2 separate regions of the Homo sapiens genome follow, and region 1 is linked to region 2. The links are contacts of gene promoters, found by promoter capture Hi-C in blood cells and fetal thymus (Javierre and others, 2016). All regions are on one chromosome and are shown on one strand. The core of a region is centred on a gene start or on the middle of the fragment in contact, and the rest is flanking DNA. Distances in the headings are between cores, read along the strand shown. Region 1 overlaps LIN52 (lin-52 DREAM MuvB core complex component). Region 2 holds the start of VSX2 (visual system homeobox 2).

Region 1 (5,502 bases), core at 1,571-4,070, 110 kb after region 2:
TTGCTAACAGCCATGAAAAGCACAACTATACTGGACAATGGATGATGGGATTTGGGCTGGTTATTTGTTGCACGATAGCCTAGAAGGCAAATAGACAATAGGAATACTTAAGAATAAAAAATTTAATTTGTGGGCTGGGTGACGTGGCTCACACCTGTAATCCTAGCACTTTGGGAGGCCAAGGCAGGAGAAATGCTTGAGCCCAGGAGTGGGAGACCAGCCAGGCAACAGAGATCCTATCTCAATAAATAAATAAATAAATAATAAAAATTTTAATTCATAAATTATGTTTAAATTTTTGGTTGTCAATTCTACAATTAAAAGCCTATTTAGGGCCGGGCACGGTGGGTCATGCCTGTAATCCTAGCACTTTGGGAGGCCAAGGCGGGTGGATCACTTGAGGTCAGGCATTTGAGACCAGCCTGACCAACAAGGCAAAACCCCATCTCTAAACAAAAAAAATTAGCCACGCGTGGTGGCACATGCCTGTAATCCCAGCTACTTGGGAGGCTGAGGCACGAGAATCACTTGAACCTTCCGGGTGGAGGTTGCAGTGAGCCAAGACCACTGAACTCCAGCCTGGGTGACAGAGTGAGACTCCGTCTCAAAAAAAAAAAAAAAAAAAAAAAATGGCCAATTTAGGCTAGGTGTGGTGGCTCATGCCTGTAATCTCAGCACTTTGGGAGGCCAAGGCGGGCAGATCACCTGAGGTCAGGAGTTTGAGACCAGCTTGGCCAACATGATGAAACCCTGTCTCTACTAAAAATATTAAAATTAGCCAGGAGTGGTGGTACACGCCTGTAATCCTAGCTACTTGGGAGGCTGAGGCAGGAGAATCGCTTGAACCCAGGAGGCAGAAGTTGCAGAGTTGCAGTGAGCTGAGCCACTGCACTCCAGCTTGGCAAAAGAGCGAGACTGTCTCAAAAAAAAAAAAAAAAAACCAAAAAATGCCTATCTAATAAATTCCTCATTCCCTAATATGTGTTCATGTAATTTATTTATTTTTTTTGAGACAGGGTGATATGGTTTGGCTCTTTGTTCACATCCAAATCTCATCCTGTAGCTCCCATAATTCCCACGTGTTGTAGGAGAGACCTGGTGGGAGATAACTGAATCACGGGGGCAGTTTCTCCCATACTGTTCTCCTGATAGCAAGTGGGTCTGCATGAGATCTGATGGTTTTAAAAGGAGGAGTTTCCCTGCCCAAGCTCTCTTTTTGCCTGCCGCCATCCATGTAAGACGTGATGTTTTCCTCCTTGCCTTCTGCCATGATTGTGAGGTCTCCCCAGCTATGTGGAACTGTAAGTCCATTAAACCTCTTTTTCTTCCCAGTCTGGGGTATGTCTTTATCAGCAGCATGAAAACAGACTATACATAGGGTCTCACTCTGTCCCCCAGGCTGGAGTAAAGTGACATGGTCACAGCTCACTGCAGCCTCGAATTCCTGGATTCAAGGAATCCTCTTGTCTCAGCCTCCCAAGTAGCTGTGACTACAGGTGTGTGTCACCACACCTGGCTAATTATTTTTTGTACAGATGGGTTCTCACTATGTTGTTTGGGTTAATATCAAACTCTTGTGCTCAAGTGAGCCTCCTGCCTCAGCCTCCCAGAGTGTTGGGATTACAGGTGTGAGCCACTGTGCCCGGCTGCATGTAATTTAGAAATACAGAAAAGCAGTCTGGGATCCAACATATAAGCACCTCTTCATCTTCCCACCAACTCACAAACCTGATCTTCATCTATCCTCTCTCATTTCCCTTGTTATACAAGAGTAGACAAAGTAGCTCTCTTCCAATCTAAAGCCAACACATCCATATTCTAAGTGCTATGCCTTCAAACCCTCTCAGAAACCTTACTTATATTTGATTCACCTGCGCCCTCTCAGAAACCTTACTTATATTTGATTAACCTGCATCTTCTATCGTGGCATTGAGATTTAAATATATATTAAGTCTATCATCCTAAAGCAACTAAACTCTGACTCCACTTCTCCCACTAGCTTTCACCCTTTGTCCCTCTTAAGAGTCAAACTCTGAAAGAATTATCTCCCTATCCTGTTTCCATTTCCTACCTTCCACTCATTCCTCACTCCATTTCAAACTGCCTCCACCATCCCACTAAAACTAACTCACTCATTCATACATTTAACTGCCTAAACAATGTCTCCAGTTAACAACCAAAGCCAAACCCCATGTCAAAAACTAAATGCATAATCTTTCCTTACAATCTGTTCCTCCTCCAGGGTTGTTGTTTTTGTTTTGTTTTGTTTTGTTTTTTTAGACAGAGTCTTGCTCTGTTGCCCAGGCTGGAGTGCAGTGGTGCGATCTTGGCTCATTGCAACCTCAGTCTCGCAGGCTCAAGATTCTCATGCCTCAGCCTCCTGAGTAGCTGGGATTACAGGCGTGCACCACCACAGCAGGCTAATGTTCTGTACTTTTTAGTAGAGACGAGGTTTTACCATGTTGGCCAGGCTGAACTTGAAATCCTGATCTCAAGTGATCTGCCTGTCTCAGCCTCCCAAAGTGCTGGGATTACAGGCATGAGCCACTGCACCCAGCCACAGCGTTCTTTAGTAAAAAGCTTTACTGAGATATAATTCACATATGATAATGCACATATTTGAAGTGTATAGTTTGGTATGTTTTGACAGATGTATTCCACACTACAGAGGCAAGATCCTTTTGAGTCCTCCCTGGTGTCCTGTGAATGATGAGGTTTCTCCAGTCCAGTGGGAGTAGGCACTATTACTGGCCCAGTGGTGCCAGGCACTGTTCCTTCCAATCCTTTTGGATGGTTCTTTCTTCATCCTCAAGAAGCTCCCTCACATGAATGTGCTGATCAGTCCTCAGCTAAATACTCCAGGAGGACCCTCTGTGGATCTCTCTTCTTTCTCTGTGCCGCCCTCTCCTCTCCGGTACTCTGCTGTCCTGTGAACTCTAGCTGTCTTGGCCTCTCCACACTCTCAGCTCCATTTCTTCAACTCAGGAAGCCCACCAGCCTCTGCCTGGGTCCCTCTCCCTGCACCACAGCCTGGAAATTCTTTCAAAGCAGTAAGCTTGGGGCAGTCACAAAGTTCACCTTTCTCTTTAGTGATTACTGTCCTTTGTTGCCTGATGTCCAGCATCCTGAAAATCATTATTTCATATATTTTCCATTTAAAAAAACTGTTTCAGGTAAGAAGGTGAATCTAGTCCCTGACATACCAAGTTGACCAAAAGCAGAGGTCCCTCCAATGTTCTTTGCATGCCACTGACTTACATGCTCAAGAGAAATCTAGGAGTCATCCCTGACACCCTTCTCCCCTTTCCCACAGCCAGTCCATCAAGACTTATTCTCTGTCCCAGACAGGCGTGGTGGTTCATGCCTGTAATCCCAGCACTTTGGGAGGCCAAGATGGGAAGAGTGCTTGAGGCCAGGAATTCAAGATCAGCCTGGGCAACATAGCAAGACCCCATCTCAAAAAAAAAATTAAGTTTAAAAAAAGACTTATTCTGTGTCCTAAGTCATTCTCAAATTAACTACTTCTCTCCATGTCCACTACCAGTACCCTAGTTCCAGGCAGCAGTCTTAGCTATTGCAATGACTTCCTACTTTATTTCCCTAGTTCCTCACTTGCCTTCCTGCAAACCATTTTTTACATGATCAGAAACTGAATATTGTTTGCTTAAAGCCTTTCAGTGGCTTCCCAGTGCTCTCAGTATAATACCCAAAATCCTTAGTAAACCTAAGAAATCTCACATGAGCCAACCTGTCTATCTCACCAGTCACTGTCTGAATTCATATTAGTCTTCTTTCAGTTCTTCAAAGACACTGTGCACCTTCCCACTACCAGACTTTGCTGTTCCCTTCTGAAAGCTCATCTCCGTTCTCTCCACCCAGTTAACTCCTACTCATTCTTCATACCGAAATATCTTTTTCTCAGGAGACCCATCCCTGCCCTCTTAGGCCTTGTCCCACATTGTACTTAGAACAATATCTCAGCAAATAATTATTTGTGTAAGGCCTTATCTACTAGAATGTTAGCTTTATGACAGCAGGAACTATATCTGTCTTATTTACTGCTAAGTCCTTGCTGCCTAGCATAGTACTCTGAAGTTACATAATAAATATTAACTGTATGAATTAGAAACACTAGGCCTTAATATAGTAGAATTTTAATGCTGTAAGGACCTTAGAGGTCTTCTATTCCAACAACTTCATTTTTTCAGCTCAGGAAATTGATGACCAAGGTCACGAAGCTAAATTTCTGATAAAGGTGACACTATGTAATAATATTTTAAATTTATTGGTAGCTTGCTAGGTGTCAAACACCATACTAGCTAGTTTTTGATTGAGGTGAAATTCACATTTTTGAAGTATACAATTCAGTGGCATTTAGTGCATTCACAATGTTGTGCAATCACCACTTGTATCAAGTTCCAAAACATTTTCACCTTCCCCACAAAAATCCCAAATCCATAAAGTAGTCACTCCCCATTCCACACTTTCTCTAGGCCCTGGGAACCACCAATCTGCCTTTTCATGTCTTCTGGATCTACCTACCCTAGATGTTTCATGTAAATGAAATCACACATTATGTGTCCTTTTGTGTCTAACTGCCTTCATATAGTATAATATTTTGAAGATTTATTTATATGTTGTAGCATCAGTACTTCATTCATTTGAATGGCTGAATAATATTCCACTGTATGGATATACCACATTTTGTTTATTCATTCATCTGTTGATGGACACTTGGGTTGTTTCTACCTTTTGGCTCTTGTGAATAGTACTGATGTGAACATTTGTGTAGAAGCATTTGTTTGAGTACCTGTTTTCAATTCTTTTGGGTATAAACCTAGCAATGGAATTGCTGGGCATATGGCAATTCTACCTTTTAACCTTTTGAAGAAATACCAGTTTCCCACAGGGAGTATACCATTTTACATAGCCACCAGCAATGTATGAAGGTTCTAATTTCACCATATCCTTGCCAATACCTGTTACTTTCTGTTTTTGTTTTGGGGTTTCTTTAATTATAGCCATCCTAGAGGGTATAAAGTGGTATCACCCTGGTTTTGATTTGGATTTCCCTAACGACTAATGATGTTGAGTATCTTTGCATGTGCTTGTTAGCCATTTGTATTTCTTCTTTGGAGCAATGTCTAGTCAAGTCCTTTGCTCATTTCTTTTTTTTTTTTTTAATACTTTAAGTTTTAGGGTACATGTGCACAACGTGCAGGTTAGTTACATATGTATACATGTGCCATGTTGGTGTGCTGCACCCATTAACTCATCATTTAACATTAGGTATATCTCCTAATACTATCCCTCCCCCCTCCCCCCACCCCACAACAGGCCCCGGTGTGTGATGTTCCCCTTCCTGTGTCCATGTGTTCTCATTGTTCAATTCCCACCTATGAGTGAGAACATGCGGTGTTTGGTTTTTTATCCTTGTGATAGTTTGCTGAGAAAGATGGTTTCCAGCTTCATCCATGTCCCTACAAAGGACATGAACTCATC
Region 2 (5,412 bases), core at 606-3,105:
CGCGGGCAGGAGAGGTAACAGAAAGCGGGGGCCTCACCTGTGTCGCCGCTTCTTCCGTTTCTTGGTCTGGTTTAAAGCAGATTTGGACATTTTTCGATCGCTGGAGGAAACATCTTCAGAATCTGAAAAGCGGGCGTAGGGACATGCGGCAGAGTGGGGGACGCGCTCCGCTGTGCCCGAAACCCGCGAGGGCCCCACCCCGGGCTGCCTCCGCGAGCGGCGGGGACCTGCTCTGTCTCCCCAGGAAGCCTGCGGGCGCCCCGGTGGCCGTCCCATCCCTGAGCTCAGGCTGACCTCTCCCGCGCCGGGGCCCGAATCCGGAGGTTTTGAACAGATTTCGTTGTAAGAGAGGCAAAGGCCCCGGCGCGCTTGGGACCGGGACGACGGAGAGCGAGGCAGCCTTAGGGGGCCGCAGAGATCCCCGGCAGCGCTCGCGACCCTGCTGCGCCCTGCCCTGCGCGGCCAGCCCCAATGCCCCGGGCCGGAAAGTTGGCCTCGAGGAGCGAGGAGCGGAGCGGAGGCGTGGGGAGCTGGGCTCCGGGAAGACTGGGGGCTGCCGAGCACCGTCCTTTTCGCAAGGCGGCACAATGCGTCCCTACTCGAGGCCCGAGAGCCTGCGACGCGCTGGTTTTCGTTGCCTTTCCACGTAAAACAAAGTAAAACGCAACGAAAAATCGGGGGAATTGCCAAGCTCAAACAGGAATCGGAGGTTCGAGCGGGCCGCGACACACCTCCCGGAAAGCAGCGCGGGGAGAAGGCGGAGAGGTCACCCAGGGTCCCCGAGCCCGCGCGTCCCCGGGCTCCAGTATATAGTGGCGCTTACGTGGGAGAGGATGGCGGCCGCTTTAGCTGCCGCGATGGCCGGGTTGTCTGAGCTCGTGGGGGTGAAAAATAAACCCCAGTTGACCAGCGCGGGATTTGGGAATCAGACAACTTTGGACACCAGGGATGGGGCCGGAGCCGGAACAGCATCGGGCTCGAGGAGTGCGGATCCTACACCAGGCCGGGGCCGCAGTGGAGCAGCGGTGCTGGGGCCCTCCGACACGGCCGGCGACTCTGCACCACGGGCTCCGACACCCCAAACCCAGTTTTCAGTGGGGCTCCAACAGAGTGCCGTGGCCGAGCCCTGCCCGACGCGGGGACTGGAGAACTGCGCGGCCGCCCGAAACGCTTGGGGCCGAAACCCTGCGGACGCCGAAGCATCCTCCCGGGCCCCATCACCAGGCGCGTCGGCCCAAGGCCCAGGCGGCGACCCCCGGCCTGGCAGGAACTTTTCCGCCTGGAGGCCTGGTCCAGCAAGCGAGAGCCGACGGCGCGGGGCTCCCGGCTGTCGCCCCCCAGTCAGGCAGCAGCGCAACCTCTCCTCACCTACCCGAGCTGGCCGTCTGGCTGGTGTCCAGCGGCCCCGATGCTCTGCCCAATGGCTGCAAGTGGACGCTCTGCGGGTCGGACAGCACTTCCAGGAAGGTGGGCTGCGTGTAGAAGCCAGGGAGCCCCCCGGGCCCCAGAAGCCCCATGCCGCCCACCCCCGCGGGGCTGAGCACTGAGCGCGCCGCCAGCAAGTGCCCGGGGGCCAGGCCGTCGAGCGCTGCCCGCGGGTGGGAGCTCGGGGGCTCCTTGTTCAAGCCCAGGATCTCCTGGATGCCGAACCCAGTGCACCTGGCCGGGGCGCCCCCCGAGGTACTCTTGGCCACTGTCTCGGATTTGGGCTTGCTCAGCGCTTCCCCTGCTTTCCCCGTCATCTCCCTGTTCTTTGGAGGGGCTGAGGCCGCAGGTCTTTAGCTCCCCCCACCCCCCCGCCGGGCTTCCCGCTTCGCGAAGTTGGTCCCAGGTGCCCCCTCCGGTGTCTAATGCTCTGGAGCCCAAGGAGATTCCCCTTTTATCCAACCAGGCGGCAGCCCAAGTGGGGTCAGAGCTGAGCAGCCAATCACCGGGGCCAGGAGCGATTAGGAATTCCAAAAAGCTGGCAGCTCCCGCCGCAGGCAATGTCGAATGGCCAGGGTGCTGGGGGTGGAGCACCGGGTGGGCTCTGCAGGATGCCCATGGGCAGGGACCCCAGGGGCCGAAGTGAGACAACCAGGTTCAGGTTCAGGGCTGTTCCGGGAGGCAGAGTGGCTTGGGGCTCTGGGCAGATTCTGGCAGGGACAGGTCCCTGAGGTCAGGTGGAAGGATGGGCTAAGGGCAGAGGTGAGAGACTGGGAGACCTCCTTCCCTCAACTCCTATGCAGGTTGGCAGCATCAGGGCGGCCTGAATATGGCACCTCTGTGTAAACGGTTGAACAAGGGAGAGGTAAGTGCTGGGGCAGTGTGTGTGGTGGTAAGCTGGGAAAAGATCAGGCCAAGGTGTGCAGAGGGTGATGTAGGGGTAGGGAAAGTTTGCTTCCCCAGCACAAGGTATAATGCCTAGTTCGGAAGAGCTACTCAACACATATTGGCCCAATGAATGAATGATAAATGGGTCAGAAAGAGGGGTCCCTGGTGGGAAAGAGGAACAGTGATGATTACTTTTGGAGAACAACCATGGACATCCAAACCTCTTCCTAGAGTAAGCATGAAGCATGCCCAACTTTCATGGGAGGACTTGATTCTTCCACCCAATTCATTCGACTAATATGTATTGAGCTACTAGCTCCGACCTGGTAGCCAGGGGTTCCGCAGTAAATCAGACAAGGCAAGGGCCCTGCTATACTTCAGAGTTCATTGAGCAAACAGAATGAAGAGGAAGGGATTGTTGATGTGGAGGGAGAGGAAGGAGGAAGCGGGTGAGAGGAAATTAAAAGGTAAGCTGCTTTCCCCTGCACTCCACCACCTCAGCTAACTCTTCTGTGACCTTCTTGGGGCTGGGAACTATCTTATCGACCTTGAGGCTCCCTTCTTCACTGCGCCTAGCATATGGTCAGTTCATGGTAGGTTCCTTGAATTGAAGGCACCCTATGGGGAGATAAGGACTAGGTCCATTGCTTTAAGCAGAGATTGGAAAACCAGGCTGGGAAGATTCCATCCAGGATTTCTTAGCCAGTCAGGTGCAAACCCCCAAATGGAAGGAAACCCCCTAGCCATACCTGGCCTATTGCCAAGGTGTCTGGTACCCTCGTGGCTGCCATGGGGCCAGCCTGAGAGGTAAGAGGAGGCACCTCAGGATGTGGAACCTAGACCTTGCTAGCAGGGCTGTTGTGAGGAGGGTCTCCACTCCCATTGGTTTGGTCCACATAACAGCTGGAATTAGGTAGGGGCATCTCATGGTGCAGGAGATATCTGGGAGAGTGGTGCCTCTGTATCCCATAATAAGGCCGTGCCTACTGTGTGCCTACATCATCCCAGGCCCCTTACATGGTGTCATCTCTGGTGACACAATCTCAAGGCATTCTTCACCTTATATTCTATGGAGGTGGGTCCCAAGTAACACCACTCACGTAGACAACAATGTGAATGGTGCCCTCTGGAGTTGTGCAAAGCAGTAGACTCACCTGCCAGAAAAGAATTTCTGTCCCCATTTAATGGATACACAAACTTATGTTGCCTAAGAGGTTACCTAGCTAGTAAGCATCAGAGGTCAGATGAGTCAGCGCATGAGTCTGATGTCAGAAGCTGTTTTCTTTTGACTCCATCCCTCTCTCAGCCCACTCTCCATGCCAGCCCACCCTGGGAGGATGGATGAGGATGTTATGTTAATGGCATCTGTCATGTCCCTGACTTATCATGAGACATCCACGATGAGCCAGATGCCAGCTGATGGGCAAACGTGAGTGATGGAAAACAAGTGTGTGAGTGATGAAGTTGGCTCTTGCCAGATGAGGATGAAAAATCTCTTGACCAAACCCCATGTCTGAAGCTGCCAGTTCCCAATATCAGAGAGATAGTCGCCATCCTGCTGTAGGAGGTTGGAGACCGGGACAACCCCAGGCCCCCTGAGAAAAACCCTTGCCAGAGGCTGAAGGTGAAGGGAGGACTCAGCTTCCACCTGCGGCCAGCTCCACCCTGGGAGCTGGACTCCTTGACAGACTCCTGGCTACGGGGCTGTCTCTGAGCTTTTGAGGTGTCACTGTTACTGCTCCCCAGCTGCCCAGCTTGGGCTGGACCCAGACTTAAGACATTTGTGGCCGGGCGTGGTGGCTCACGCCTGTAATCCCAGCACTTTGGGAGGCTGAGGGAGGCGGATCACTTGAGGTCAGGAGTTTGAGACCAGCCTGGCGAACATGGTGAAACCCTGTCTCTACTAAAAATACGAAAATTAGCCAGGTGTGGTGGCGTGTGCTACTCCGGAGGCTCAAGTGAGAGAACTGCTTGAACCCAGGAGGAGGAGGTTGCAGTGAGCCAAGATCGCGCCATTGCACTCCAGCCTGAATGACAGAGGGAGACTCCATCTCAAAAAAAAAAAAAAAAGACATTTGTGGACCATAACGGGGGACCCTACAAGGAAATGCAGATCCCCACAGCTTGGGCCAGGGGTGTGGGGAGTGAAGTGAACCCTTTCAGAGGCATTTAGTTTGGTCACACTGAGTCCAAACCTGGGCCTTCTCTGAGCTCATCATTTCTCTTCTCTCTTAACATCGATTGCTTTACCTAGAAAATAGCCCGATAATGGGGTTGTGAGCATCCCTTGACCCCCTGAGTTAGCATAGAGGACAAGGGCCTGGTCTCTAGAGCCAGACTGCCTGGGTTCAGATGCCCACTCTATCACTTGCTTGGTGACTTTGGGAATATTATCTAACCTCTTTGTGCCCTCTGTGCCTCAGTTTCTTCATCCATAAAATGGGGATCATAGTAGGACCCCACTCCTTAGAATTATCATAAAGGGCCAGGTGTGGTGGCTCACACCTGTAATTCCAGCACTTTGGGAGGGCAAGGCGGGTGGATCATTTGAGGTCAGGAGTTCAAGACCAGCCTGGTCAACATGGTGAAACCTGGTCTCTCCTAAAAATACAAAAATTAGCTGGGCATGGTGGTGGACACCTATAATCCCAGCTACTCAGGAGGCTGAGGCAGGAGAATCGCTTGAACCTGGGAGGCAGAGGTTGCAGTGAGCCAAGATCGCACCACCAGCCTGGGCGACAGAGTGAGACCCTGTCTCAAAAATTAAAAAAAAAAAAGAAGTGTCATGAAGGCCGGGCCTGGTGGCTCACGCCTGTAATCCCAGCACTTTGGGAGGCTGAGGTGGGTGGATCATGAGGTCAGGAGATCGAGGCCATCCTGGCTAACACAGTGAAATCCCGTCTCTACTAAAAATACAAAAAATTAGCCGGGCGTGGTGGCGGGCGCCTGTAGTCCCAGCTACTCAGGAGGCTGAGGCAGGAGAATGGCGTGAACCTGGGAGGCGGAGCTTGCAGTGAGCCGAGACTGCGCTACTGCACTCAAGCCTGGGCAACAGAGCCAGACTCCATCTCAAAAAAAAAAAAAAGAAAGAAAGTGTCA

Evidence for each region. The method cuts DNA at HindIII sites, captures the fragments that hold promoters and counts their contacts. A CHiCAGO score of 5 or more calls a contact.
Region 1: a contact is called between a fragment that was not itself captured here and the fragment with the promoter of VSX2 in region 2, in 2 of 17 cell types (M1 macrophages and M0 macrophages). The highest score is 5.5, in M1 macrophages.

The regions. Positions count from the first base shown.
Region 1 is chr14:74,125,717-74,131,218 of GRCh38, reverse strand. All of the region lies in intron 5 of LIN52 (lin-52 DREAM MuvB core complex component), which reads right to left. The region is part of intron 1 of LOC105370563 (a long non-coding RNA gene); the gene reads left to right. Among named protein-coding and RNA genes, the nearest start is that of LIN52, 44 kb to the right of the region's middle. The HindIII fragment of the contact is 475 bases long and covers 2,583-3,057 here.
Region 2 is chr14:74,235,892-74,241,303 of GRCh38, reverse strand. VSX2 (visual system homeobox 2) reads right to left here and starts at 1,855. Exons shown (of 5, transcript NM_182894.3): 1 at 1,373-1,855; 2 at 38-122. The coding sequence starts at 1,742. RefSeq lists an enhancer at 1-504. The HindIII fragment of the contact is 12,282 bases long and covers 1-5,412 here.